Regions from separate parts of the Homo sapiens genome. Here all the other regions are linked to region 6. The links are contacts of gene promoters, found by promoter capture Hi-C in blood cells and fetal thymus (Javierre and others, 2016). All regions are on one chromosome and are shown on one strand. Each heading gives the region's core, a stretch centred on a gene start or on the middle of the fragment in contact. The rest is flanking DNA. Distances are from core to core; before and after follow the strand shown. Region 1 overlaps RBPJ (recombination signal binding protein for immunoglobulin kappa J region). Region 2 has its middle 20 kb from the start of CCKAR. Region 3 overlaps RBPJ (recombination signal binding protein for immunoglobulin kappa J region). Region 4 has its middle 38 kb from the start of CCKAR. Region 5 overlaps RBPJ (recombination signal binding protein for immunoglobulin kappa J region). Region 6 holds the start of STIM2 (stromal interaction molecule 2). Region 7 overlaps TBC1D19 (TBC1 domain family member 19).

Evidence for each region. Contacts are between HindIII fragments. The CHiCAGO score rates a contact against its expected background, and 5 or more counts as called.
Region 1: a contact is called between a fragment that was not itself captured here and the fragment with the promoter of STIM2 in region 6, in 1 of 17 cell types (fetal thymus). The highest score is 7.1, in fetal thymus.
Region 2: a contact is called between a fragment that was not itself captured here and the fragment with the promoter of STIM2 in region 6, in 1 of 17 cell types (total B cells). The highest score is 5.7, in total B cells.
Region 3: a contact is called between a fragment that was not itself captured here and the fragment with the promoter of STIM2 in region 6, in 1 of 17 cell types (total CD8 T cells). The highest score is 5.9, in total CD8 T cells.
Region 4: a contact is called between a fragment that was not itself captured here and the fragment with the promoter of STIM2 in region 6, in 2 of 17 cell types (fetal thymus and M2 macrophages). The highest score is 6.6, in fetal thymus.
Region 5: a fragment that was not itself captured here is called in contact with the fragment with the promoter of STIM2 in region 6 in 1 of 17 cell types (fetal thymus); the score reaches 6.9 in fetal thymus.
Region 7: a contact is called between a fragment that was not itself captured here and the fragment with the promoter of STIM2 in region 6, in 1 of 17 cell types (fetal thymus). The highest score is 5.7, in fetal thymus.

What each region holds. Positions count from the first base shown.
Region 1 is chr4:26,405,538-26,409,274 of GRCh38, forward strand. RBPJ (recombination signal binding protein for immunoglobulin kappa J region) reads left to right here. Exons shown (of 11, transcript NM_015874.6): 3 at 638-733. Among named protein-coding and RNA genes, the nearest start is that of CCKAR, 83 kb to the right of the region's middle. RefSeq lists an enhancer at 182-1,381. The HindIII fragment of the contact is 731 bases long and covers 1,605-2,335 here.
Region 2 is chr4:26,468,571-26,472,300 of GRCh38, forward strand. No RefSeq gene overlaps it. Among named protein-coding and RNA genes, the nearest start is that of CCKAR, 20 kb to the right of the region's middle. The HindIII fragment of the contact is 7,217 bases long and covers 1-3,730 here.
Region 3 is chr4:26,365,813-26,369,435 of GRCh38, forward strand. All of the region lies in intron 1 of RBPJ (recombination signal binding protein for immunoglobulin kappa J region), which reads left to right. Among named protein-coding and RNA genes, the nearest start is that of RBPJ, 47 kb to the left of the region's middle. The HindIII fragment of the contact is 870 bases long and covers 1,831-2,700 here.
Region 4 is chr4:26,450,386-26,453,863 of GRCh38, forward strand. No RefSeq gene overlaps it. Among named protein-coding and RNA genes, the nearest start is that of CCKAR, 38 kb to the right of the region's middle. RefSeq lists an enhancer at 2,486-3,024. The HindIII fragment of the contact is 306 bases long and covers 1,231-1,536 here.
Region 5 is chr4:26,425,617-26,429,369 of GRCh38, forward strand. RBPJ (recombination signal binding protein for immunoglobulin kappa J region) reads left to right here. Exons shown (of 11, transcript NM_015874.6): 8 at 3,104-3,244. Among named protein-coding and RNA genes, the nearest start is that of CCKAR, 63 kb to the right of the region's middle. The HindIII fragment of the contact is 656 bases long and covers 1,732-2,387 here.
Region 6 is chr4:26,859,184-26,862,694 of GRCh38, forward strand. It overlaps STIM2 (stromal interaction molecule 2), which reads left to right and starts at 1,658. Exons shown (of 12, transcript NM_020860.4): 1 at 1,658-2,186. The coding sequence starts at 2,036. STIM2-AS1 (STIM2 antisense RNA 1) reads right to left here and starts at 1,416. Exons shown (of 2, transcript NR_134674.1): 1 at 1,327-1,416; 2 at 441-845. RefSeq lists an enhancer at 1,215-1,314 and silencers at 1,405-1,774, 1,785-2,354. The HindIII fragment of the contact is 3,345 bases long and covers 61-3,405 here.
Region 7 is chr4:26,598,536-26,602,135 of GRCh38, forward strand. The region is part of intron 1 of TBC1D19 (TBC1 domain family member 19); the gene reads left to right. Among named protein-coding and RNA genes, the nearest start is that of TBC1D19, 16 kb to the left of the region's middle. The HindIII fragment of the contact is 2,827 bases long and covers 250-3,076 here.

The sequences.
Region 1 (3,737 bases), core at 720-3,219, 450 kb before region 6:
ATTAACATTGTATTTTTTTCAAAATTCAGATTTTCACCGATTTCAATTACTTTATTAAATTTTATTTATTTAATAATATCCTTGAGATAATTATGTATTCGTATGTGAACTATAGGCCTTTCTTGGTCCTTATAGGATTGTCATTTTAGGATCATGTAATAATAAATTTGGATGGCCTAAGGATTTGTTACAGCTTTTGTATTCAATGAAAAACATTGCTTCCGATAGCTGGGGTAGGGAAACTGAGGAAGGGAATTACATTATTAAACTACAAAATTACTGCATTTTATTAACTTTATAATATTTTAGAGCCACATTAGCAGTGTATATGTTGATTCTAGTTATTCTGGAAGGTGTAATTGTGGTTTGAGTTACATCATAAATTCCAAAGAATGAGAGACAGTTTCTTATTTTTAAAGAACAAGGAATAGAATTGAAAATGAGCAGTATTCATTGTATCATTGTATAATCTTCCAATTTAATTTATGGATTTACTTTGCTTTATTGTTTTTGTTTTTAAGATTTGCTTATTTAAAAAATATTTATAAGCATTCCTCTCATTACAGAGCGTAGTAATGATGAAAGATTTCATCAAGAATTTCACCTCTGTAACAGTAATATTTGTATTTGTTTTTAGGGAAGCTATGCGAAATTATTTAAAAGAGCGAGGGGATCAAACAGTACTTATTCTTCATGCAAAAGTTGCACAGAAGTCATATGGAAATGAAAAAAGGTAAGATTATTTTTCTGGTGGATAGTTAATTGTAGTTACCACATGAATTTGCCAATTATGTATTAATATACATGTCAGAGGATGGCTTCTATTACTGGGTTCATTTGCTAGTACAAAATAAAAAATAGGGGATTTGTCTCCTGAAGGGGAGAAACAAAGTGAATTGTGGTATACTGTTAGGAATAGATAATTGGTGCTGTGAAGAAAAGTCAGCATGGAGACAGAGGACCTCTCAGCAAGGCAGTCTTTACTTTCTGCAGAAAGGGTGCCCCTCGCAGATGGAACAATGGAGAGAGCACACTTGAACAAAGGAAAAGCAGACATATTTGTCCCTTACGCATTTGGGTCATCCTTACTGCTGTGTCCTGCATCCATTGGCTGGAGCTGGACCTCACAGTATTAAACTGATACCTGATTTGCTACTAACATAAAACTTTCCTAAATACGTTAAGTGCAAGGGAGAACAAAGAAGAGAGGAAGTTGCTTACAAAAGGTTTAAGAAAGCAATAACATTTCCAAATAAGGAAGGGGCATAAGCTATGAGCTAAGACTTGCCTGGGCCTGCCCAGACATGCCTGAATAAGCCAAAGCAACTAATTGGGCTAAAGTGTAAGAACTGATAGTTGATAGGAGGCTTTAGAGTAAGAAGCTATGATTTCTAGTGTCTGTTATTTTATTTTCAAACCAAGACGAGCTTTGAAGGTGGAACTTTTCTACTTTCTACATACACTCAAGCCAGAAGGGTAATTTAATAAAGGTCATCTGGTTAATAAATCCCTGATCTTACAAAATGAAATAATCCACAGTTTTTCTTTTGGGCTACATAATGTCCCCGAAATACTTATGTGATACATTAGCTTATTCACAAAGAAGCTTTCTTTTTGGTGGAAAATGTAGTTTTTTACGCAAATGTGACCCCAAAAGTACCGTTTTGCAAAGGAAAAGGCTGAATAAGCTCTTGATCCTAAAACTGTCTTGAGCTTAGGTTAATTGAGCTATGGAATGATTATAAAGAAAACTCCTGGCCCTCTCTCTTGATCCTATTCTTGTTTGGGTTGCTATTAAGAAGAAACAGCAAAACTGGGTTCATACTCTCATACTACTTGAATGTGGACTCAACAGAAATTACCTATAAAGTAGATTAACCAAAATTAAATTACAACAAGGTGATTTTTAAAAAATTATTTATTGTGGTATTCTATAAATTTCCGCATTTTTTATGTTTAATTGGGGACTTTCATTGTTGTTTCTTCACTTGGTTCCTGGAATTTTCTTTGAATAGTTTCTTGAGTCTGTCTTTCAAACAGCATTTTTTGGTTAAGCATTCCATGGAAAAAGCCTGCTTATGGAGAAAGATCAAAGGTTTTTTAATTGGCTAGAAAGGTACCCAACTGAAGAGAAAAGGAATGAAAACTAAGGTTTTGGGATTGTTGTGAAAGGAATGAGTAGAATTCTTAGAGATTGTGACATAAAGGAAACCTCAGCTTATGCTTAAGAGAAGGGAAATGTAATATGTATGTGATTAAATTAATTTACATGTTAAAAGAGAATTTTTAGGAAGTTCCTTGAAGCTGACTAGATCTGAGCTGAAAAGAGGGGTAAAGCTTTCTTTCTTTTTTTTTTTTTTTTTTTTTTTTTTTTTGAGACAGGGTCTCTGTTGCCCTGGCTGGAGTGCAGTGGTATGATTTCCACTTACTGGGCTCAGGTGGTCCTCCCACCTCAGCCACCTGAGTAGCTGGGACTACAGGCACTCACCACCATGGCCAGCTAATTTTTGTATTTTTTATAGAGACGGGGTTTCACTATGCCGTCCAGGCTGATCTCAAACTCCTGGGCTCAAGTGATCCGCCTGCCTCAGCCTCCCAAAGGATTACAGGCATGAGACACCGTGCTTGGCCAAGAAGGTAAAGCTATTTAATTGGTAGTTTTAATCCTCAAAGATGAACAAGTGAAAACAATATTTAAGATTCATACTGCCAGGTACTGTTATTCAGGCTTACTAAATTTCTGATTATTTTATCGTACTTTACTAATACAACTTAAACACTGATTTAGGGTTAAAGATGGGAAGAAGTTGGTATCTGTAGTTTGGGACATAGCGTACCAACTCAAATTAGTGGTCCTTTTTTTTTTTCCCACGAAGTTGATATTAGAAATTCAGTATTTTTTTTTTCATAAATAAAATTTAGTGTGTGTTTATAGCAAGTTTTCTGCTTTTTAAGCAAAACAGAAAAAGTTAACACCCATCATTATGGAGGAAGAATCTAAAAGGCCAGCTGTGCACCTCATAGTGAATCCGAGGTAGAAACAGTTTCATATTGGCTCCAATCATGAGCCAGACATGATTCCCAAAGTGCTTTATAAATATTTTAAAGTTGTAATCCTCGTAACAATTTTGTAAAGTAGTCATGTTATGATCCAAATTCTGTGGGCAACGAATCTGAAAATCAGAGACTTTAAATGTGTCCAGGTTGACATTAGTTAGGAATCTGTGGAGCTAGGGTTGGAACTCTTGAGGGCCTAATTTTAAATATTTACCCTTTTTACTACCCTAATTGCCATACCATTCCATTTGCGTTTGAGTGTTGGTTATCTAGAGCAGGGATTGAGGAGGAAAAGATCCTTTAAATACTTAAACTTTGTAAACTTAACTTTGCCTAGGACTAACCCTTTTCCATTACCTAGGTGAGATTGGGCTAGCCCAATTGAATTATGAATAGATGTGTGTTTATCATATAGCTTCAAATTTAGGCAAGCTGCTTTTCTTTTCTCTGGATTTTTGAAGATGCATTTTAGTACAATTGAATTCACTTATTCTTTATTTCTGATTGGCTATTGTGTGCTAGGTTTTATGCAAAAGGACCTTTACTAGGAGTTTTAAAAGTCACTGTGTCATTTAATACCGGGATGTATAACTGAGGCCCGTTGGAGATAACAAAAGGGGAAGACCTATTTAGAAAATTGTGTTAAAGTCCAGATAAGGTTCCTGTTTGTTAGTTACTGT
Region 2 (3,730 bases), core at 532-3,031, 390 kb before region 6:
TACACCCACCCCATTGACAGCCCCTGGTTAGGGTTGCCCGAGTACACAAATAAAAATACAACATTGCCCAAGACATGCTTATACTAAGACATTATTCACCATTTATCTGAAATTCAAATTGAAATGGCGTTTTGTATTTTATCTGGCAACCTTACACCTGGAAGGTGCCCAAGAAAACACCTGCAGAATTAGGTCTTGGGATCTGTTTGCTCCACCCCTGGAGAATTTTTCAGCTGGGCTAAAAGTCCCTTAGCCATTTGTGTTCTCTCTTGCCCACCTTGTATATTTGCCTCAACTGGCTGTACTCTTGTTGCAGCTGCTGCCTCTGTGCTTGAGGAAAGTCATTGAAATTAGAGAACAGGAGAGAAAGACAGAAGCAGTTGATGAAGAAGAGGTCAAAGAACAGATGTGAGGACTTGGCTCAAGTTTTCAGTGGTTCCTGCTAGTGCCATGTAAGGGGCATTAGTAAGGTTCCATCTTCTCTGACCATCTTGGGCTGGTTCTGGGCCTTTGGAATGAGTGGACTTTTGAACCCTGCATCCTTCAGGGAGCAGAGGCATATTTGTGGGTGGCTTAAACAACAGAAATGTATTATCTCACAGTTCTGGAGGCTGGAAATCCAAGATCAAGGTGTCAGCAGGGTTGGTTTCTGGTAAGGGCCCTCTCCTTGGCTTGCAGTTGGCCGCTCTCTTGCTGCCTGTTCACACGATTGTCTCTCTGTGCATGGGTGTGCACGAGGCCATCATGACACCTTCATGTACGATGTTCTGTGCTAGATTTGGGGGTTGCTTGTTATTGAAGCACAAGGCAACAAACACTGATGAATAAACCCAGAAACCTCAAGCAGAGTTCTTACATTTCATTGGCTAGAGCCAGTGGTGTTTTAGGGTTGGCTTGTATTGGCTTGTAAGGGCCAGTTGTTAACTTTCCAGAAAACTTGGTAGTTGATACTCAAAATGCATCCATATTAGGCCACTCTTGCTTTTCTATAAAGGAATATCTGAGACTGGGTAATTTATAAGGAAAAGAATTTTAATTGGTTCACAGTTCTGCGGGCTGTACAGGCAAAAGCAGGAGCAAGAGGGAGAGAGGAGAAGTAGGTGCCTCACACTTTTAAATGACCAGATATTGTGAGGATTCACTCACTATTATGAGGATAGCACCACGGGGATGGCGCTAAACCATTTATGAGAAATCCTCACCCATGAGCCAATCGCCTTCCACCAGGCCCCACTTCCGGCATCGAGGGTTACATTTCAGTATGAGATTTGGGCCAGGACAAATATCCAAAGTATATCAGCATCACTTTTTTAATTATTTTACTACAGGTAGCTATCATCTATGCTCTTGTTATTTATGTTTCTTGCATCTGCGTGGTGGAAATACTATAAAATAATGGGCTACAGCACGTCTCTCCCAGCTCCCTGTTCAATGAGGCCATGCTGGTGACTTGAAATTGTCTGTGATAGTATTTATACAATAGAAATCAGCAAACTAGCTATAAATTAGAATTTTTTTTTTCTTTTTCAATTAGAGAGCAAGTTGTTAAGCATCCCTGGCCAGACTGGGACACAAACCTACCTCTCAACCAATAACTAGCAAAAGGGAATAAGATTATCATGTCTGGCACAGATTTATCATGATTTATCTCCTGGACGTAGGCTCTTTTTCTCTAAACATAATGCCATTGTCTCAGTCTGTTTTGTACTGCTATAACAGCATACCTGAGACTAGGTAATTTATAATAAACAAAAATGTATTGGCTCACAATTTTGGAGACTGGGAAGTCTAATACCGAGGGGCCTGCATCTGGTAAGGGCCTTCTTGCTGAGTTATAACATGTCGGAAGGGCAAAGAGAGGGTGAGAGAGAGAGCGAGCAAGAGGGGGCCAAACTTGTCCTTTTATAAGGAGCCCACTCCTGAAATAATGGCACTAATCCATTTGTGAGGGCAGTGGTCCCATGACCCAAGCACTCCCATTAGGCCCCACCTACCAACACTGCAGCATTGAGGATTAAGTTTTCAACACATGCTTTTTGGGGAACACATTCAAACCATAGCAACTGTCAATACCTGTACTGTACCATTATGGAGTTCATGAGCAAGAAATAAGGAGTAGGGTGGGGGGACTGAGCTGTTGTTAGGTGACAAGAAATATACAAAGACAGCATTATGAGAGCTCAGAAAAAACAGACATCTTTTCTGATAGAGAATTTTGGAGGTTTTATGGGGAAGTTAACAGGTGAGCAGAGCTGTGAAGAATAAGATTTTATCAGGAAGTGCTAAAGAGAGGAGAGTGCCCCAAATTGAGGGAGGCATGCATGCAAGGAAGTGCTTGGGAACAGCAAATAATTCTGTTCTGAAAAGAAGAGGAAATTGACTGATAGGGAAGGGAGATTGACTCTTGCTTGCTGGGGACCTGGATGCCAGGCTAAGGAAATCGAACCACTAAGCACTGGGGAGCCACTGGGCAGGGAGAAAAATGATCCAAACCTCATATTGGTAAGGCCAGTCTGTTACCAGAGGGTGGGGTCAAGTGGAGGAGAGAGAGAATTGGGAGGGGGAGAGGCCAACTGGTCAGCAACTGTGACATTTTGGGTTATAAGTAACAAAGTTAATTCTGATTTACAGTGCTCTCAATAAAAATAAAAAAGACCAGCTGGACCAGGTTAATAACTGAAATTAGTGACTTAGACATCATTTACAATGGCTATCACTCATTAAGCACCTACTGTTTGTCAGACACTCTTCACATGTAATTAGTTTATTGAAAGGTGTGGAACAATCAAGAAACAGCTTTGTTTTTCTTCTACCTCTGTCTTCATTCCCTCTCTGTTAGATATTCTGCCCCTGACATGATATCTCTGCCCAACCGATAGCTTTCCCCAAATCTTTCCTGCCTATTTCATCAGGACAACTTCATCTTCAGGTATTTAGTATGATACAAATCCAAACTTTCATCTCACATTCAGTTTGAAGCCTCTCTCTTTTCCTCTAAATCAGACAAGTCCAGGCAAGGCATCTGCAATGAGAAGAAGCTAGTAGTCTTTTCTCTCTCTCTCTCTCTCTCTCTCTCTCTCTCTCTTCCTTGTTCTATTTCTTCCTCTTGAGGATGGAAGGAGAGGTCAGTGGTAAAGGGGCAAAAGTGGTGTCATTTGTAATTCTTCAATGGTCAAAGGACCTTTGGCAAATGCTGAGCCCTTCTCTTTTGGGGCAACTTTGTGGCTTTCCAGAGACCACTCTCCCATGCACACACATTCTGTGAAGACCTCCAATACTGCATCATGTTCTGGTGTGAAGACGCATTCCCTGGTCAGCTCCTGCTCTAGCAGAATAGCCCATGTGGCTTCCTTCTGCCCCAGGGTGACCAGGCCTGGCTACTTCCTATGATGTCTCCTGGATCAATGGAGCCATCCCTCTTTGCCTCTCTTCTGTGAACTGAATGCTTGTGTCCCCTCCCAAATTCATATGTTGAAACCCTAATCCACAATTTCATGGTCTCTGGAGGCCTTTCAAAGGTAATTGAGTCATGAGGGTGGAGTCCCATGAATGGGACCAGTGCCCTTATAAGAAGAGACACTAGAGAGATGATTCCTGTCTCCACCATGTGAAGACACAGCAAGAAGCTATCCTTTTGCAAGCCAGGAAGAGGGGCCTCGCCAGGGACTGAATTGGCTGGCAGCTTGATCTTGGAAGTCCCAGTCTTCAGAACTGTGAGGAATAAATTTCT
Region 3 (3,623 bases), core at 1,016-3,515, 490 kb before region 6:
GGTTGTTAGAGAGTATCTAAGGAATAGAGAGTAGAAGAACATAGCAGCAGTGGCTTTTGAGTAACATTAACCAAGGCTGTTTTATTAAGTAGAGTGATGTAGTATCTTGCCCCTTGGCATGTATTGTGATGGTTATCAACTCATAGATCAGTGGTTTTCAAACTGCCAGTGGTAGCACACTCTGGAATCAATTTAGCAAGTTGCTGCCTCCCGTGAACCCCCTACCCCCTAATGAAACAGAAAAGAACAAAATAGAAAATATTATGAATGTATCACACAATATATACCTTTCTAAAACTTCTGTGTCAGTGGCATGTGTATGTATGGGATTGCAGAGACCTAATTTCTAGTGATTATCAACTGGAAAACTATGAAACTCAGTCTAATAAATTCATATTGCCAAGCTGACCTCAGCCACAAAAGCTTCAGATATTTAAGACAAATATTACCAGATCAGTAGTTTTTTTTTGTTTTGTTTTGTTTTGTTTTGTTTATCTCTGATGGTAGAGAACAGTTAGTTTGCTATAAAACTTTGGTTTTGTTTTTTTGTTGCTATATTGTTTTGTGATGTGTATGTGTTTGTTTGCCCTGGTAAATATATATGTGTATTTATTTTTATTTATTTTTTTGAGACCAAGTCTTGCTCTGTCACCCAGGCTGGAGGACAGTGACATGATCTCAGCTCTACTGCAACCTCCGCCTCCTGGATTCAAGTGATTCTTCTGCCCCAGCCTCCTGAGTAGCTGGGACTACAGGCGCGTGCCATCATGCCTAATTTTTTGTATTTTTAGTAGAGACGGGGTTTCACCGTGTTAGCCAGGATGGCCTCAATCTCCTGAAATCGTGATCTGCCTGCCTCGGCTTCCCAAAGTGCTGGGATTACAGGCATGAGCCACCGCCCCCAGTCTGTCTTGGTAAATATTTAAAGGTTCATACATAGGAAATTTACAATACATCCTAGTTGTGGAAGGATTTACCCTTGCTTTGCATTGATGTAAGAGACTCATGCAGTTTAAAAAAAAATACAAATAGGCCGGGCGTCGTGTTTCACGCCTGTAATCCCAGCACTTTGGGAGTCCGAGGCAGGTGGATCACAAGGTCACCAGTTTGAGACCAGCCTGGCCAATATGGTGAAACCTCATCTCTACTAAAAATACAAAAATTAGCCAGGCATGGTGGCAGGCGCCTGTAATCCCAGCTACTCGGGAGGCTGAGGCAGGAGAATCTCTTGAACCTTGGAGGTGGAGGTTGCAGTGAGCTGAGGTCGCGCCACTGCACTTCAGCCTGGGCGACAGTTGTGAGACTCTGTTTCAAAAAAATAAATTAATTAATAAAATAAAAAGAAAATACAAATAAAATGATGATGCACGCTAAAACCTATCAGTTCAGGCCAAGTGCAGTTGCTCACGCCTGTAATCCCAGCACTTTGGGAAGCCGAGGTGGGCAGACCACCTGGGGTCAGGAGTTCAAGACCAGCCTGGCCAACATGGGAAAACCCCATCTCACTAGAAATCCAAAAATTAACCAGATGCAGTTAATCTCAACTACTTGGGAGGCTGAGGCAGGAGAATTACTGGAATCTAGCACACGGAGGTTGCAGTGAGCCAAGATCATGGCACTACACTCCAGCCTGGGCAACAGAGCAAGACTCTTGTCTCAAAAAAATAAAAAATAAAACCTCTCAGTTTCACTTTTTATATGTTAGGACTTGTTTGTATAATAGGTGCTTCTTCAATTCAGAAGGCAAATATAAAATTTAAAGTTGCAAAAAATTAAGCATAAATCCAATACATTACAAATATTGAAGGCAGTTAAATGTTCAAATGTTAAAGCTTCTGTTTTTGTGAAGATTTCAGTAACATTTTAAATTTTATTTTTCTTGGATTAGTTCCTGTGCCTACTGCAGTGTCCTCATAACAGCAGATGTTTGCTTTATAGATTTATTGAGGATGATCACAGAGTTTCTGGTGAATATTTTAAAATAAATAAGGCTTCAAAGCAGGGTGGTATCAGCATATGTATATTTTAAGATTGTCTAAAATATAGTTTCTTTCTCCTTAGAAAACAGTGAAAAGATGAAGACTTCTGGTAAATTGTTTCACAGCAGTGGAATTTGTACATTAGTTTTCTACACTTGGGAGTTGAAAAATGGAAGAATTATTTGCCAAAAGAGGAGGACAAAAGATAATATGCATAATTCATCTTTTTCTGCAAGTTCTTGGAAATTTAGTCAAAGTACATAGTTCAGTTCTCTGAATTGGGCATGATATGCTCTTCAGAAATCACGTTTTGAAATTACAGAAGATAAATAACCTCTCCCAATCAGTGTGTTAACTACCCTGATGATGGTTGCTTGTCTTTGTACAGATGTGTGCAGGCATACATCTTTAGTGGTGGAGGCAGTAAATGAAAACATATGGATTCAGAGTATGGAAGAATTGAATTCATTTTTTTCTGTTGCTTTGTTTCACCAGATTCCCCCTATTCCACATTAACCCCTTGTCTTCTCCCAGATTATCCAACTCTTCCTACTCTTTTCCATAGCGTTGTTTTGGCTTTTTGGCATTGTAAGAGGATTGCTTTTTTTCCCCCTTAAGTTATGTTTACTCACTTCATTGTCACTGCTTTCCACCTCATACTGGTTATCCTGTTGGAAGCACGAGGTTTTGTGTTGTCTCTCTGTGGAATTTGTTTCTTCAAAGCTTTGTGTCTTTCCTTTGGTTGTCATCATGCATGATAGCAGCGTGTATTCTTTTTCTTTGGTAAATTTCTCCGCCTAGAGTGTACTTTAGAAGGAAACTAAACTGCATTCTAGTTTAGTTGGCCCCAAACTGAGATCAGTAGCCAGAGATGGCACCCAAGGGTGGTGAGGGGATTAAAAATGCCTGTAGAAGTGTTGGTGGCAGCAGCTAAGCAGCTAGATTAATCAAATGTGCATGAAATTTAACTTTAAATAAACTCCTTTGTTGTTGAATTTTCTGTGGAAAAACTAACTTGAGTGAGAAATTCTAGCCCTGGGGCAGGGATAGGCCAGAGATAAATGACACAAATATGCTTATAAAATGGGGGGTGACTGGGTGCAAGCAGAACACACTGAAAGCATTCATATTTGAAATAAACAGTCACTATCTCTGTAGGGAGCCAATTTTCAATCCTTGGTCTACTTTCCAAATCTGTTCTTTCCCCTACCCTCATTAGCAGATTTTGCTTATTTTGTTGACTCCTGTAACTCCATCCCCTGGGACAGTGAATAGTCATAACAGGTATTCAGCAAATATTAGCCAAATGAATGAACTTTTGATACTACTAGGTTTTTAAGACATGCATCTATCTTGTCATGGCAGAACAGGTCATACTCTTATTTACCAACCTCTTAATTTACAAACTGAGAGAATAGCTAGATATATAAGAAGGTAATCTTATTTTGAAATGATTTCAATTTCTAGAAATTTGTCATCACTGAACTCTTGTGAGGTGGGGATTGGTACATCTGAAGGCCAAGAATATCTGAGTGTGTTATGCTAACAATGAATCAATATTGCGCTTACAAGATTTCCCTTACCAAATGATTTACCCAGTCTTCACAATAGCTCTGCAGATTGCTAACAATTAACATTCCTATT
Region 4 (3,478 bases), core at 134-2,633, 410 kb before region 6:
AGCTGCTCTCCATTCCATGTTTGTTTTAGTTTTGCTCCTGCTTTTGCAAGGGAAGCCCAGTACTCAAGGAGACAGGGCACAGTTAAGAAAACCAAGTTCTTGGAACAGGCCCAGATCTGTACCAGGCTCTGGGCTTGAACATGACTGCAGAAATGTCAGGAGTTGCTCCCGGAATGGATAATTGAGTCCAGGGAGGTGACTCTTTCTCTGTGTGGATTAACACATGACTATCTCCATTGCCTCCCTGTGGCCCGTAGTGGTGATGGTTGTCAGGAGTGCTGTGTGTCAAGAAGGACCATTCTCAGCAAACTAACACAGGAACAGAAAACCAAACATCGCGTGTTCTCACTTGTAAGTGGGAGTTGAAAAATGAAAACACATGGACACAGGGAGGGGAACATCACACAATGGGGCCTGTCGGAGGGTCAGAGGCAAGGGGAGGGAGAACATTAGGACAAATACCTAATGCATGCAGGGCTTAAAACCTAGATGATGGGTTGATAGGTGGAGGAAACCACCATGGCACATGTATACCTATGTAACAAACCTGCACGCTCTGTACATGTATCCCAGAACTTAAAAACAAGGATTCAGAGGCTGCATCTGCGGTTAACTAAAGGGCATTATGAGCAGTGATGCCTGGTGTGTGAGATGGAGACTATGCACAGACACCAGTTATTTTCCTTCCTTGGCCTTAGGTGACGGTTCTCAAACATGACCCTGCAACAGAATCACCTGAGGGTTAAAACTCAGATTACCCTTCCCCAGCGTTTCTCATTCAGGATATCTGGATTAGAGCCCAAGAAACTGTTTAAGAAGTTTCAGGTGAGCTGATGCGAATTCAGAGACCCCACTTTGAGAACCAGCAGTCTAGGGGTGTTAGCCTGTAACTACCTTTCCTTTGCCACTTTTTTTTCAATTGTGATTTGTATCTTCCTGCACTCACCTCCCAGCCCACCAGCCCATACACCAAAAGAAAAAAAAAAAAAGAAAAAAAGACCAAACGACCCAGAATACAGCTAGGCAGCTCAGGGGACAGGCGTAAACAGTTTTTTTGTTTGTTTTATTTTTCCCAAGTCAGGCCTGCATTTCAGCCCCTCACCTTCTGAGCTTAGGAAGGTCAGCTAGACACTCTGGCCTCTGTTTCTTCTGTAAAGGGGAAGATTGTGATAGATGGGCTCAAAGGTGACTTCTGGCTGGAAGTTTCTATGATCTATGACTGCTATCAAAAGCTTCAATGCTGCTACTAGAAAATAATCATCATCACTACTTGCTAAACACCTAAGGTGCCAGAAAGTGTGCTAAATACTTTACCTGCCTGATTGCATTTCTAAAACTTACAGCAACTCCGGAGAGCAGGACTTCTTATACCCATTTCATAGATGAGGAAACTGAGGCACAGAGAAGCTAAATGATGTGACTAAGGGGACGATGTCAATGATGTGAGAGCTGGGGAATTGTAGGGGCCGTTGGAGCATGGTATGGGAAAGGAACATGAACCTGAGAGGCACATATCTTTGAACTTTATCAGATTCAAGCTTCCTCACTCCCAGCTCTGTGGTTTTTGGACAGCTCACTTTATTATATTTCTCTAACCTTAAGTTTCCTCCTGTAAAATGGGGTAATGTTATCTGCCTTATTGAGGTTGCTGATAAACATAAAAAAACTGAATATGAAAAGTGCCTGGCATGAAGTTGACCCTCAGCTAATTCTAGGTTTGATCTGGGCAATGTGGAAACTCAGCTGTGTTTTGGGGTGGAAGGCAGACCTGCACATGGGAAGGAAGGTGGCTGAATTTTCACCCTACTGAGACTTATCCCTTGGTGGAGGAGGTGAGGGGCCTTCACCCATGTCTGAGCAGCCATCTGTATTCTCTAGTAAGAAGGGTGAATGCTCCCTGTTCTCAGCCTCCCAGAACCCATGTTTATCATCATGAATTAAGCTGCATAAAATTCAGGAAGCTCCTGGGGTAGCCGAGAATATAAAAGTTGAGCTGGGAGGAAGTTAAGATAGATCTCTCTGCCTTTGCTGTAGAAACAGACGCTCTGCTCAAGGGAGATTGTGCTAGGAATTTGAATCCCTGCAAAACACCGAGGCATTTCAAGCCACAGAAGGCTAACGAGGGGGATTTTTAGTAGAGGGAATGAATCCTGGGGGGAAAAGGATGAAGTGGAGCCTTCCACGATACACAGCACAGACAGGCTGAGTTACTGCTGGTGATGGAGCCAGAAAGTCAAGGACGTAGAATTTAAAGAGCCCTGAGTCAATAATGGAACCGGAATGGAGGATGCATCAGGGCTTATTGCCCCTCCTCCCCTCACCAGCCTTCTCACCTGCCCATTAGGAGGCAGCTTTCCCTGGGGAACAGGTGTGGCCATCAGCAAGCCATGTTTCTAAACAAGCTCACTGACTCCTTCCTCCCCTGGATGTGTCCTAATCAGCGTGAGACAAGTCAGAGTTTGAGGGTCACACAGGTGTGCAGGATCTCACAAATGCGGAACCAGCTAGACTAGAAGGGCCCCCGCACTGGGTTTTTCTCACGCAAAGCAAGGACAAGCAGAAGCAAGTAATGAAAATACATAAAAAGGTACAAAAGCAAATGTTGACATTAAACAGAAGACTCCTTTGAACCAGAAGAGGGACATGGGTAGCCAAACACAAGCCAGGCTCAAGTTTCCTGTCTCAGCAGGGGAATACGCTGAGATTAGCGGTATTGATTGTTCATTTATTTTTGAGATAATCAAGTTACAGGCTGATTATAAAATTGCATCTCAGCAGTGTGCCTTGACTTTTTTTTAAATCTCCCATTAGTCTGTCTGGGTCAGCCTGGCTGTGGTCACAGGGGGGCTGCCAGAGGCCCACACAGCAGCATGATACCCCTATACCTGTTGCTTCCCGAGGCCACCGAGGTCTCGTGAGTCAGGGCTTGTGACAAAGAGAACCTGCCACATCTGAGCCTGAACCCTGGCACACGAGGAAGCAGGCCCAGGAAATGAGATTGTCTCCATTCCCTGCTCCAGCTCCTCCTCTGTAGAAGCCCATTTGTGTAAACGGACGGTGCTGGACTGTGGATGTGCAGGGGTGTGTGGGCAGGAGCAGGGGCAGCAGGGCAGGTGACTGGACCTGAACATGCCTGCAGCCAGGGTAGGGAAGAAGTGTGCTATGAGCTGTGGAACCAAAGCCCCAGGGCAAGGCCACTTGGGATAGGCAGAGAGAGATGGGCCACTTCCTTTTGTTTTTTTTTTTTTTTTTTTTTTTTGAGACAGAGTCTCGCTGTTGCCCAGGCTGGAGTGCAGTGGTGCAATCTTGGCCCACTGCAAGCTCCACCTCCCTGGTTCAAGCAATACGTGTACCTCAGCCTCCCAAGTAGCTGGGATTACAGGCACGCGCCACCACACCCAACTAATGCACTTCCATTTTTTTGCAGCACCTTCCTTATATGTTACAGAGTGAAGGAATGCTTCCTAATCCCACAGCC
Region 5 (3,753 bases), core at 810-3,309, 430 kb before region 6:
CAGAAAAGGAGATCTTGAAATTGTAAAAACTACTTTTGTTAGTAAAATGAAAACAAAAGTCCTCTATAGTGCCACCACCCTCCCAATTTTCCCTCTCCTTTTCTCAAACAATATAATTTACTTATATTCAAGATGAAGGGGATTTATGAGTAAGTTTGATTCAAGGTCAGACTGAAGAGGTTGGGTGAGTAGAAGAACATTTAGTATTAATGTTCCTAAACATGCCTCCTATTTATCTTTTTGGTGCAATATTCCACTGGCTTATATTTTCTGGGGTCATTTCAGCAGAGGCTGGTTTGATCTACAGTTTTCTAAGCCAGTGATTCATTTCTTTGTTACTGTTTTTTTTTTTTACCCTCTGTCATGATTGTACAAGGTGATTTTATTTCCCATGTCAATGCAATAAGCTAGAAGACATGAAGTATAGTAATAGTAATCTGTAAAGCTTTGCAGCTGAGACAAATTATAATAAAAAGGGTAACGTTAGGGAATGAAGGGCATGAAAAACAGAGCAGGAGACAGAAGCAAGCAAAAAATCTGAATCAGCATTTATTCATTTTTTTTCTCTTCTCATTCATTTCCTCTGTTCCAAGGATGATGTTCATTTGCTTTGGTGTTAAATGCTTGTACTGCAGAAGCACAACTTAGGAGGATGATTCTGATCACCAATAGTTTATAATACAAACCACTTAGAAGACAGACCCAAATTTAAAACAATGTTTTCATTTACAGTTGTTTGTAAAGTACCAGTAGCCTGCCTTGCTTGAAAGTCATTAATTGAGGTTTTTACACTCAAAACTGTATGGCTTTATATAAAAATGTTGCAATGAAAAATTAACTTATTAGAAAAAGTTGCAGTACCATTATTAAGACGCTGATACATAAATCTTTCCAGGGGTTTCATGACAGGAATTCTGACATGCAAAGTCGAGTGCCTCTCGTCATTGAGTTTACATTTTGATAGAGTGATAAGCCAAATACCCATGTAAAGGATTTATGTAGTGATGAAAAAACAAAACAAGATAATAAAGGGATAGAGAATTGGAGGAGCGCTTAGAGAGGTCAGGGAAGTCTTTTTGAAGTCGCAGTATTTGAAGAGAGCCCAGAATGAAGTCAAAGAACCGGTAATTGAGTGAGGAGCATTTCAGGCAAACAGAACAAGTACAGAACTGAAGGCAGGGGATGTATGATGACTAGTAAAGAAACCAGTGGAGCTGGAGCGGAGGGAGGAGAGGTCAAGTGGCAGGAACTGAATCTGTAAGGTTAGCACTAAGCAAGACCTTGTAGGATCCCTCTCTGTATCTAGGGTAAGGACTTCATATTATCTCTGCATGTTAGAAGGCCACTGGAGGATTTTAAACGGGGCACGATGGCCTATTTTTGTTTAGAAGTATATGTGTGGCTGCTGTGTGGAGAAGAGAGCATAGCAATGCGGCCGTGGAAGCAGAGAGACAGGTGCTTGGATTGTTGTCATAATTGAGGCAAGAGTTGATGCTATCTTAGACCCAGGATCATAGTATTAAGGTGGTGAGGGGTGACTGATTTGTTGGAAAGTGGACCTGACAGAATTTGCTGGCAGATTGGATGGTTGGGTGTGAGAGAAAGCAAGGCATCAAGGGTGACTCTTAAGGTTTTTGGATTGAGTGAATGCTAGTGCCATTTATTGACCTAGATGAGTTGGGGAAGGATCAAGTTTAGGAGGAAATCCAAAAATCTGTTTTCGATATGCTAAGCTTGAGGTGCCTGTTAGACATCGTAAGTGGAAATGTTGAATAGGTAGTTAAGTGTACATACAAGTTGAATGCAGGAGAGAAGTCTGGAGATAATAAATTTGGGAGTTGTCAACCTTTAAATTTTTAAACAGTATAGATTATAAAGAGAGGAAAAGAGGGCTGAGAACTCAGCTCTGGGCATTTTAAAGGTCAGTTGGAGCAGTTGTGGTCCTGAAAGCAAAATGTGTTGAGAGCTTCTGAGAAAATGAAGTAAAATGAGGACAGAAAAGTGCCGTGAGATGCATCTGTCTGGAAATCCTTGGTGGCTTTGAAAAGCAGTTGTAGTGGCGTCTTTGAGATAAAAGGTTGGAGAGATTGCAGGAGATTGGACAGTGAGGAAGAGGCGTTTGCAGAAAAACAGGTAGTGAGAGGGAGGGACAGGAGCATGTAGTCAGTGTTTTCTTTACTTTTGATTTTGAGATGAGAGATAGTTATGTTTGTATGTTGTTGGAAGTGATCAATAGAAAAGGAAACAGAGTAAAAGTTCTGTGTCAAATTTTGCTCTTCATCATGATCATCTACTTAGCCATTACCTTCTAGGTGTCAAGTGTCATATAGGGTTTGATAGTATTATCTTTCAGATATTCATGTGTTTTGTAGACTAGTTGCGTTATAAGCTTTAGAGATCAGTTGGACAGGCAGCCAGCCCTGGGATCAGGACATATTCTGGTCCTTCAGCTACTAAACTGGTAATTTTGAGCAATTTGTCTGACCTTTCTAAGCCCATTTTGTAATCTGTAAAATGAGTTTGATTTTGTTATGTTTTTAAATACGTAAGTTTTGGATAATAGATATAAGACGTTTGCACTGACAGTAGCCTTCTAGAGATTTTTCCCTTTGATGTTGGAGTATTTGTCATTTTATGCATATTATTGGAAAATATCATTAGAACTTGCTGTTCAAAATATGGTCTGTAGGCCAGCAGCATTAACATCAACTGGGATTTTGTTAGAAATGCAGAATATCAGGCCCCACAAGAGTCCTGCTAGATCAGAACCTGTGTTTTTCACAAGAACCCCAGCTCATTTATGTGCACATTAATGTTTGAAAAACACTGATCTAGAAAACAAGTGCCTGCCTGCCTGATTTTTTTTTTTTAGATGTTCAGGGAAGAGGGTAACAGTTTCTACATTCTGACATGCTTGCAATCTAAAAGTGTTTTTTATTCCTAGTCTTTTTGTTTGTGAATGTTTTTATATATGTAGGCATAGGACAAATAACTGTGATGTATTATTATGCAGTATATAGCTTCTATGTACTTTTGATGTTTTACACAAGGAAAATCCTTTCCATGTGTGGATGACCTTTTATTTCTTAATTGTTAAATATAGATAATTAGGAAAGTTGATAAGCAGACCGCATTATTGGATGCAGATGATCCTGTGTCACAACTCCATAAATGTGCATTTTACCTTAAGGATACAGAAAGAATGTATTTGTGCCTTTCTCAAGAAAGAATAATTCAATTTCAGGTATGTTTTTAAATTACTGGTGAAATCTAAAATGTACAAACTGTGAGGTTAGCAGCTTGCAAAAATATGAAATTTTCATTTGCTGTTAATTATATACAAATACATGAAGCTATACACAGATATTTATCTCAGGTATGAGCATCCTTAACACACAATCCTCAGACATGCAAGCAATCCTTCCTCAAGGAAGAACTCAAAATTATGAAAATGTTCTCAGAGAAAACAGTTAACATCTAGTTCCAGGGTTCTTAATTGAAGAACAAAGAGCCCCTCAGGATATCCAAAAATAGATTTTCAGTGCTCATTGAATCCTCTGAAATTGTGTGCAAACATTGTATAGACAAAGCATTTTTCTGGGTGAAGGCTCAAAATCTCATCAGATTTATGTCGTGGTTTCCGAAGATAGTAATGATGACATGCTTTGAAAGCTAATGTTTTACATTTACTCAGAAGGCTTTCATGAGGTTATGACATGGGCAGATGATTTAATAAGACAGTTATGGTTTCAT
Region 6 (3,511 bases), core at 408-2,907:
CACATACTAGGTACTCAGTAAACATTTAATAAATGAAATGCCTCCTGGAGAGCAGGAACAAGCTTGTTATTTATATTGTTCTGGTCCCCTAGCAGAATTATCTTCTCTGGTGGGCACTCAGCACTCTGGTGTGACTTCATCGCTGTGCCTTTCAGCAGGGGAAATATAATCTCCCGGTTGCCCTATAAAGAATTGCCACCTGAACACTATGCCCACAAGAAGTCTGCTGAGAAATAACTGTTGATAGATTGACTTAGCCTCAAAGACATCCTTGATTCTTTTCTAAAGTGTGCATCTGCCCTTCCACAATAAACGATATTTGTGGTTATCTTGGCCAGGCTACCTAAGAAATACTTTAGGAGAATGTAATTTGAGTATCTTCTTGGCTTGAGAAAGCAAGCAAACAAACCAATAAGCAGAATGAAACCAACAAAACCCAATAGCAAAAGGATCTTCGTGTTTAATAACCCTATCTGCAAATTTTAAACAATTTTGTGCCCCTGGGAGAAAGAATGCCTCCTTGCGTGTGAATTTCCAGGGCTTTTAATTTATAGTGACAGTACATTCAACACTTCCTTTTAAATTTGAAGGGAGGTGGCCTTAAAAATATGCTGGCAACTAGTTTGGATGAGAAAGATTCCGGTTCTTTATTTATTCAAACCAATTAGACCAGGTCTGAACAGGATTTACAACAGAGAGCAGATCTTGGGTGCACAAGAGCTTTGCTTCATTCCAGGTTGGCGAAAACAAGTCAAGTCTACATCATTGTTCTGTCAGCCGGTTCAGGATACAGCACAGAGTCGATGGGATGGGGGTGGGAAGGTGATGAGTTCAGGTAAATGTACCTAGGAGAGTCAGAGGCTAAAGTAAATTCTCTTAAATAGGCCTTTTCAGTGGCTGCTAAATCTCGCTCATTTCCCATGAATTAGCTGTGGGATATTGGGGACAACTTACTTCACATTTCTAGGTCTTAGTCTCTTCATTCGTAAAAGGGGGTAACGATAATTTTGGAGTTATAGCATGTAAATGTGTAAAACGGTTAGAGCAATGCCTGGTACACTCACACATAGCACGCGCTTTGTGAAATGTTTGGCAAGTAAATAAAACGCTAAGCTATGCTAACCGCGTCTAAACAGCCAGCCACTTGTAAGCCCCACCTATATTGAAATTACGGGGACGCTGCTGTTTTCCGATTGCAAGATTTTCCTGATCCATGCAATTACTTTCGCTGCCCTCTACGAGGCTGAAACTCGCCCTCAGGATGTGGGACGTCTGGACTCTTCTCTCCGTCCCCTTGTAGCCCCCCACTCCCCCTCGCGGTGGTACCGTGAATGAGGGAGAGGTACACGTCCCCCTTCTTCCCCGCCTCCTATCTTCGCGGCTCGCTAAAGCGTTATCAGCCGCCCCACGGTACTACCGTCCGTCTAGGAACGCCTCCGGGGCGGGGCTGGGATGCCGCGCACGCGCAGTACAGCAGCGCCGCGCCTGCGCCGTGGAGAGCCTGAGGGAGGCGGGGGATTGGTATGCGAGCGAATGTGCGAGGGGAGGGAGGCGTCCCGGCGGAGCGTGGTACTACGACCAGCGCGGGCCGGAGGGGGCGGGGGGATGCGCCGCGGCGGCGGCGGCGCGGGAGCTGGGGTTGGTGTTTGGCGGCGCCAGAGCAGCGGATCCCGGTCTCGCCGCAGCAGCAGCGCGGGTGTCGTGCACCGCCTGAAGACGCCGTACCTTTCTACCCCCCACCTTTTTTTTTTTTTTTTTTAAATAACCGGAACCAATGAACGCAGCCGGGATCAGAGCTCCGGAGGCCGCCGGTGCCGATGGGACCAGGCTGGCGCCCGGCGGGAGCCCGTGTCTGAGGCGGCGGGGGCGGCCGGAGGAGTCGCCGGCGGCGGTGGTGGCGCCTCGCGGAGCCGGCGAGCTGCAGGCGGCCGGGGCGCCGCTGCGCTTTCACCCGGCTTCTCCTCGGCGCCTTCATCCCGCCTCGACTCCTGGCCCAGCGTGGGGCTGGCTGCTGCGGCGGCGGCGCTGGGCTGCGTTGCTGGTGCTCGGGCTGCTGGTAGCCGGAGCGGCGGACGGATGCGAGCTTGTGCCCCGGCACCTCCGCGGGCGGCGGGCGACTGGCTCTGCCGCAACTGCCGCCTCCTCTCCCGCCGCGGCGGCCGGCGATAGCCCGGCGCTCATGACAGGTGAGGGGCCGGGGGGCGGCGGGCGGGGCTCGGCCGGCAGCGATGGGACCCCCAACCCGTGCAGAGGTCAGCATCTCCGCCGGACGTCCGCTATTCCGCGGCTCCGGCCAGGGCGCGATGCGGAGCCCTGCCTGCTGCTTCGTCGCGGTCCCCTGCACTCCGGACGTCTTTCCTTTTCACCCCGACACCCCGCCCTCGCCGAGCCTCTCGACGGCACTGATTCCCCTCCCTTCAGTCGGGCTCTCCGATCTTCCAAGCTGAGCAATGCGGTGGTTTCTCTTTCGTGCTGCAGAAGTGCCAGCAGGGTCTGCAGGGGACTGGGCTGATTTTTTTTTTTTTTTTTTTTTTGAGGCTGCTAGAAAAAGTCAGCAGCAGCATTGCGGTATTGAGTCTACCTCTGGTGCTGCTTTTGCAAAGGCAGCTGGCAGCGAGTCTCACCGGTTCAAAGCTCCGCTTGAGCACAGCGTCCCAGGGGAGCCTGCTAAAGGGGATTCTTTGAGAGCCATAATACCTAGTGATATTAGTGGTTCCGTGTTAGTATGCAGAAATGCCTAAGTTTACAGTGCATTTTTTGCGGGGTGGAAGGAGGCCGTTTTAAGTGGTGATGGAAAGTGTTTGGTGGTGGGAGCATCACTGGGTGACAAAGGGTGTAGAAACCTCAGCAGGTAACCAGAAATTATACCTAAAATTTGCAAAGTGCAGCATACTCGGGGCTTGCAGCTGGCAGCACAGTTCTGATAGACTGCACTAGCACCTTTTTTTTAATATATAGAACGATCTCATAATTGAAAACTTGGAAACGTGTTTTGTAAGGTTAAGTGCAGAATTGTATCCTTTTTAAAGCCTTCCGGTGTTATGTACAACTGATCAGTTGTGGTTTAAGTAAAAGTTATTATATAAGGACCCTGAAATGATTTCTTTGGGAAAAGTAATGGAGCTAAAATAATGGTTTTTTTTTTTTTTTTTAGTATTTCACTTATTTTTAAAGTAGATCTGTAGATTTCCTACAATAATTGTAAGACTAAAAAGTTTAAAGTGGCAGAAGATGACCCGTGATTAATTTAACCAAAATGATAGTCCTGCGGGCGTCTGGAAGTTACTAACAGCTTCTCTGACAAGTGCTCAGGAACTGTATTCTTTAAAGCCAAGCAGTTTCTCTGATTTCTATGATAGGATATTTACTATTCTAGAGAGAAGAAGGATGTTGGTAAACTTTAAAAGCTTTGGAGGATGTAGAGTATAGAACATAATGGTCAGCATGTTTAACTTTACCCTGAAGCATATCAAGCCCTATTAAATGGAACTTGATACATCAAACCTACCAA
Region 7 (3,600 bases), core at 413-2,912, 260 kb before region 6:
AGGCGCCCGCCACCACGCCCAGCTAATTTTTTGTATTTTTAGTAGAGACGGGGTTTCACCATGTTAGCCAGGATGGTCTCTACCTCCTTACCTCGTGATCCGCCCGCCTCGGCCGCCCAAAGTGCTGGGATTACAGGCGTGAGCCACCGCGCCCGGCCCTAAATATACTTCTGTCAATTTAGTATCACATGAGTTCAAGTCAGGAAAGATTTTGCCACTAATTCAGTTTTGAAAAAACTTGGTTTGCAAAGCTTTTCAGGTTTCAGGATTTCAAAAAAGGATTATGAATCTGTACATATAACATCAGGAGGTGAATCCTTGAAGTAATAGAAAGTTGGGCAAGGATAGAAAGAAATAGAATAGAAAGAAAAAATAGAAAAAATAGAAAATTAGAAAGTTAGAAAATAGACAAAATAGAAAGTTGGGCAAGAATAGAAAGAAGGATAAAGCAGGAGTCTGGCGATGATTACACAAGAAACTCAAAAAAGTATTTGGCTGGTTCTTAAGATAAAATAACATCTATATTATATATATGTATATTTGTAAAATCAATGTAGATTTATTAGACAGATCTATAATATTATAGATTCATACTTTAAAAGAATATGATTATGTATCTTTAAAAATAATCTTGGACTTGTAAGAGAATCTGTGATACCAACTTTGCCTTAGTTTATATCCATTAGCACTGACATTTAATAGAAATAACTCTTTAAAGGCAACTTTACAATCTGCTTTAATAATATACTTTTAAACAACTGGTGGTTTGTTACAAGCCTTTTAAAATTTAATCAAGAGGGCATTTTCCTGCCACCAGCATCTTCTGTACTGCCTTCGTTTTATCTGTTTGGGTATATCCAGAAAGTGCTAGAGCAGTGTTGGCCCAACTTAGTTGGAAATATAAAATCACACAGAATATTTCACAGCCAAATATAAGTGATTTTTAGATTTCCCCACCCCCCACCATTAGCTCTTCTCTTAAACGTTGACTGTATTTTAATATATCCCTTTATGTGTTGAAGTTTGTTAAAGAGAGTGTGGAATTTTGTGTTCTCTAGAAAAGGGCTATGTTTTTCGTTTTCTGAGTTACTTTATGAAGTCAACCTGCATCTTAAAATTGAATTTGCTGGCCAAGTGCAGTGGCTCACGCCTGTAATCCTAGCACTTTGGGAGGCCAAGGCGGGCGGGTTGCCTGAGCTCAGGAGTTTGAGACCAGCCTGGGCAACACAGTGAAGCCATGTCTCTACTAGAGTACAAAAGAAATTAGCTGGGTATGGTGGCGTGCATCTGTAGTCCCAGCTACTGAGGAGGCTGAGGCAGGAGAATTGCTTGAACCCAGGAGGCAGAGGTTGCAGTGAGCTGAGATCGCGCCACTGCACTCCATCCTGGGCGACAAAGCAATACTCTGTCTCTCCAAAAAAAAAAAAAAAAAAAAAAAAAGAATTTGCTCACTCATCTTCTAGATGATGGGGTGATTAGCATCAGATCAGCAATGTTATTTTATGTTATCATGCATTATTTGTATTTCAAATGGATGTTGTGTAATACCCCAAATGTTATTTTCATTCCATTAAGTGTTTAATATGTTTTGTTGCTCAGATTGTCATTATAAATAATAGAATTGCAAAAGGAAGGAAGCTGAAAGAAGATAGGCTTTGAAGAGAGAAGGAATAATGCAACTAATAGGTTGTTGTCCTAAGTCAAGAACCCTGATTACATTTGGTGTGAACCATGGAGTGCTGTGATACTTACCCATATTTATTTTGGCTGCTGTTTGTCCTTTAATCCTGAAAAGTTAAACACAGTAAAGAAATGAATAATGGTGTACAGGATTATAAAATAAGAAAGTTCCTGTCTCCATAGAAAATACATATGTAAGGGATAAGAGAAGTACTAAAATGTGGGTTTGCTTGGTTTAAGTACATCTCTTCATGTTTTATTTCAGCTTTTAGAGAAAACTGCATTGTTTATAGAAGGTCATGTAGGGTTGAATTAGGTAAGACCAAGTTGAAATAAAAGGTGGAAAATTGGTTACTAAATGTGAAGTGAATACTTTCAGGCATAGAGTATACCACGAAAGGAGGCTAAGAATAGAGATGCGGATGAATAGGGGACAAGACAGCCAGTGCTGGAAGAGAAGGGGGTCAGCTTGGGGATGTCAGCAAAAGAAAACCAGTGAGGGATCCATCCTCAGGTGAGAGAAACCAGAGCAGGGCTGAAATTATACAGTGCAGATTGAGTATAAGGCATGGTCAGCTTTTGCAGAGCCAGAACTTTCCATCTGAAACTAGAGCTTATTCCTGGCTACAATGTGTGTCCACTGGGATGACTAGGATTACAGAAACAAGTCCAGTCTACAGTTTTAGAAAGAACCATAAGTATTAGGAAGAAATAAAGATAGTAGTAATTCAACATATTTTAATTGAGCCTCTCATCTGTGGTAGGTTGGGCTCTTGAGAGAAATTAGAAAAGTACAAAACAATTAAGCTCATGATAAGGATATTTCGGGGATTGATGTGAGAAAGGACATATCCTTTTAAAATATCACTTCTGTTTTAGCTTTTTGTTTATATATTTTATATATATTGTGTATGTCTATATATATATATACATATATACATAGAGAGAGACATATATAAGCAATAACTCTCCTTCTCCCCCACTCCCACCAACCTGTAGTAACCACTGTTCTACGGTCTGTCTCTATGAATTTAACTACTTTAGGTACCTCATACAAATGGAAACATACAGTATCTGTCTTTTTAAAGATTTATTTCACTTAGCTTGATGGCTTCAAAGTTCATTCATGTTGTAGTGTGTGTTGGAATTTTCTTCCTTTTTAAGGGCTGAATAGTATTCCATTGTATTTATTGAACACTTCCTATGTGCCAGTTACTGAGTATATTGAAAGAAGAATGCAAATGAATAAGGTATAAATATACTGAGAGGAAATGGCTAGAGATTGGGGAAGTCTTGGATAGCACTCAAGGTGACAAGATGGGAGTGAGTTCCCAATGTAGGAACAGTAAGAAGGCTAAGCAGAGGGTCTCTCTTATAGGGTATTTCTAGAGAAATAAGCTTATCTAGGTTGAGTAGAACTAGAGTTTTAGAGGGATGTAAATACTTGAATGAAATATTCTGAGGAGGGTGAAGGCATGGAGTTGGTTTTTAGGAACATTAATCTGACACAGATGAGCAGGTTAGATAGGAATTGGAGTGAGTGCTTTAGCTTCACCTTCTACTCTTTTTGATTCTTACATTCTATTGGATCTTTTGCTGTTCCATAAACTAACATTGTACAAAACCATTTTCATGCCTTTGCTCAGTCTGTTCACTCAGCCTCTATTGCTTTGCTCCCGTTTTCCAGTTTCTTTAATTAGAATTGTTTCTTTTTCTATAGGAGGTACCTCTGTTGTGACATCTTTTCTTTCTTATAATGGCTTTTTGGTGTGTTTTAAAATTGGCTATCTTGCTTACTGGACAATAAAAACAAGTCCCAGAGAACAAGGACAATGTCTTATTCTTCGTGTGTTTCTCATGGGGTTTTGTAGTTTGTAGGTTGAAATCTTTCATGCATAAAAGAAGGGACAAATACATTAA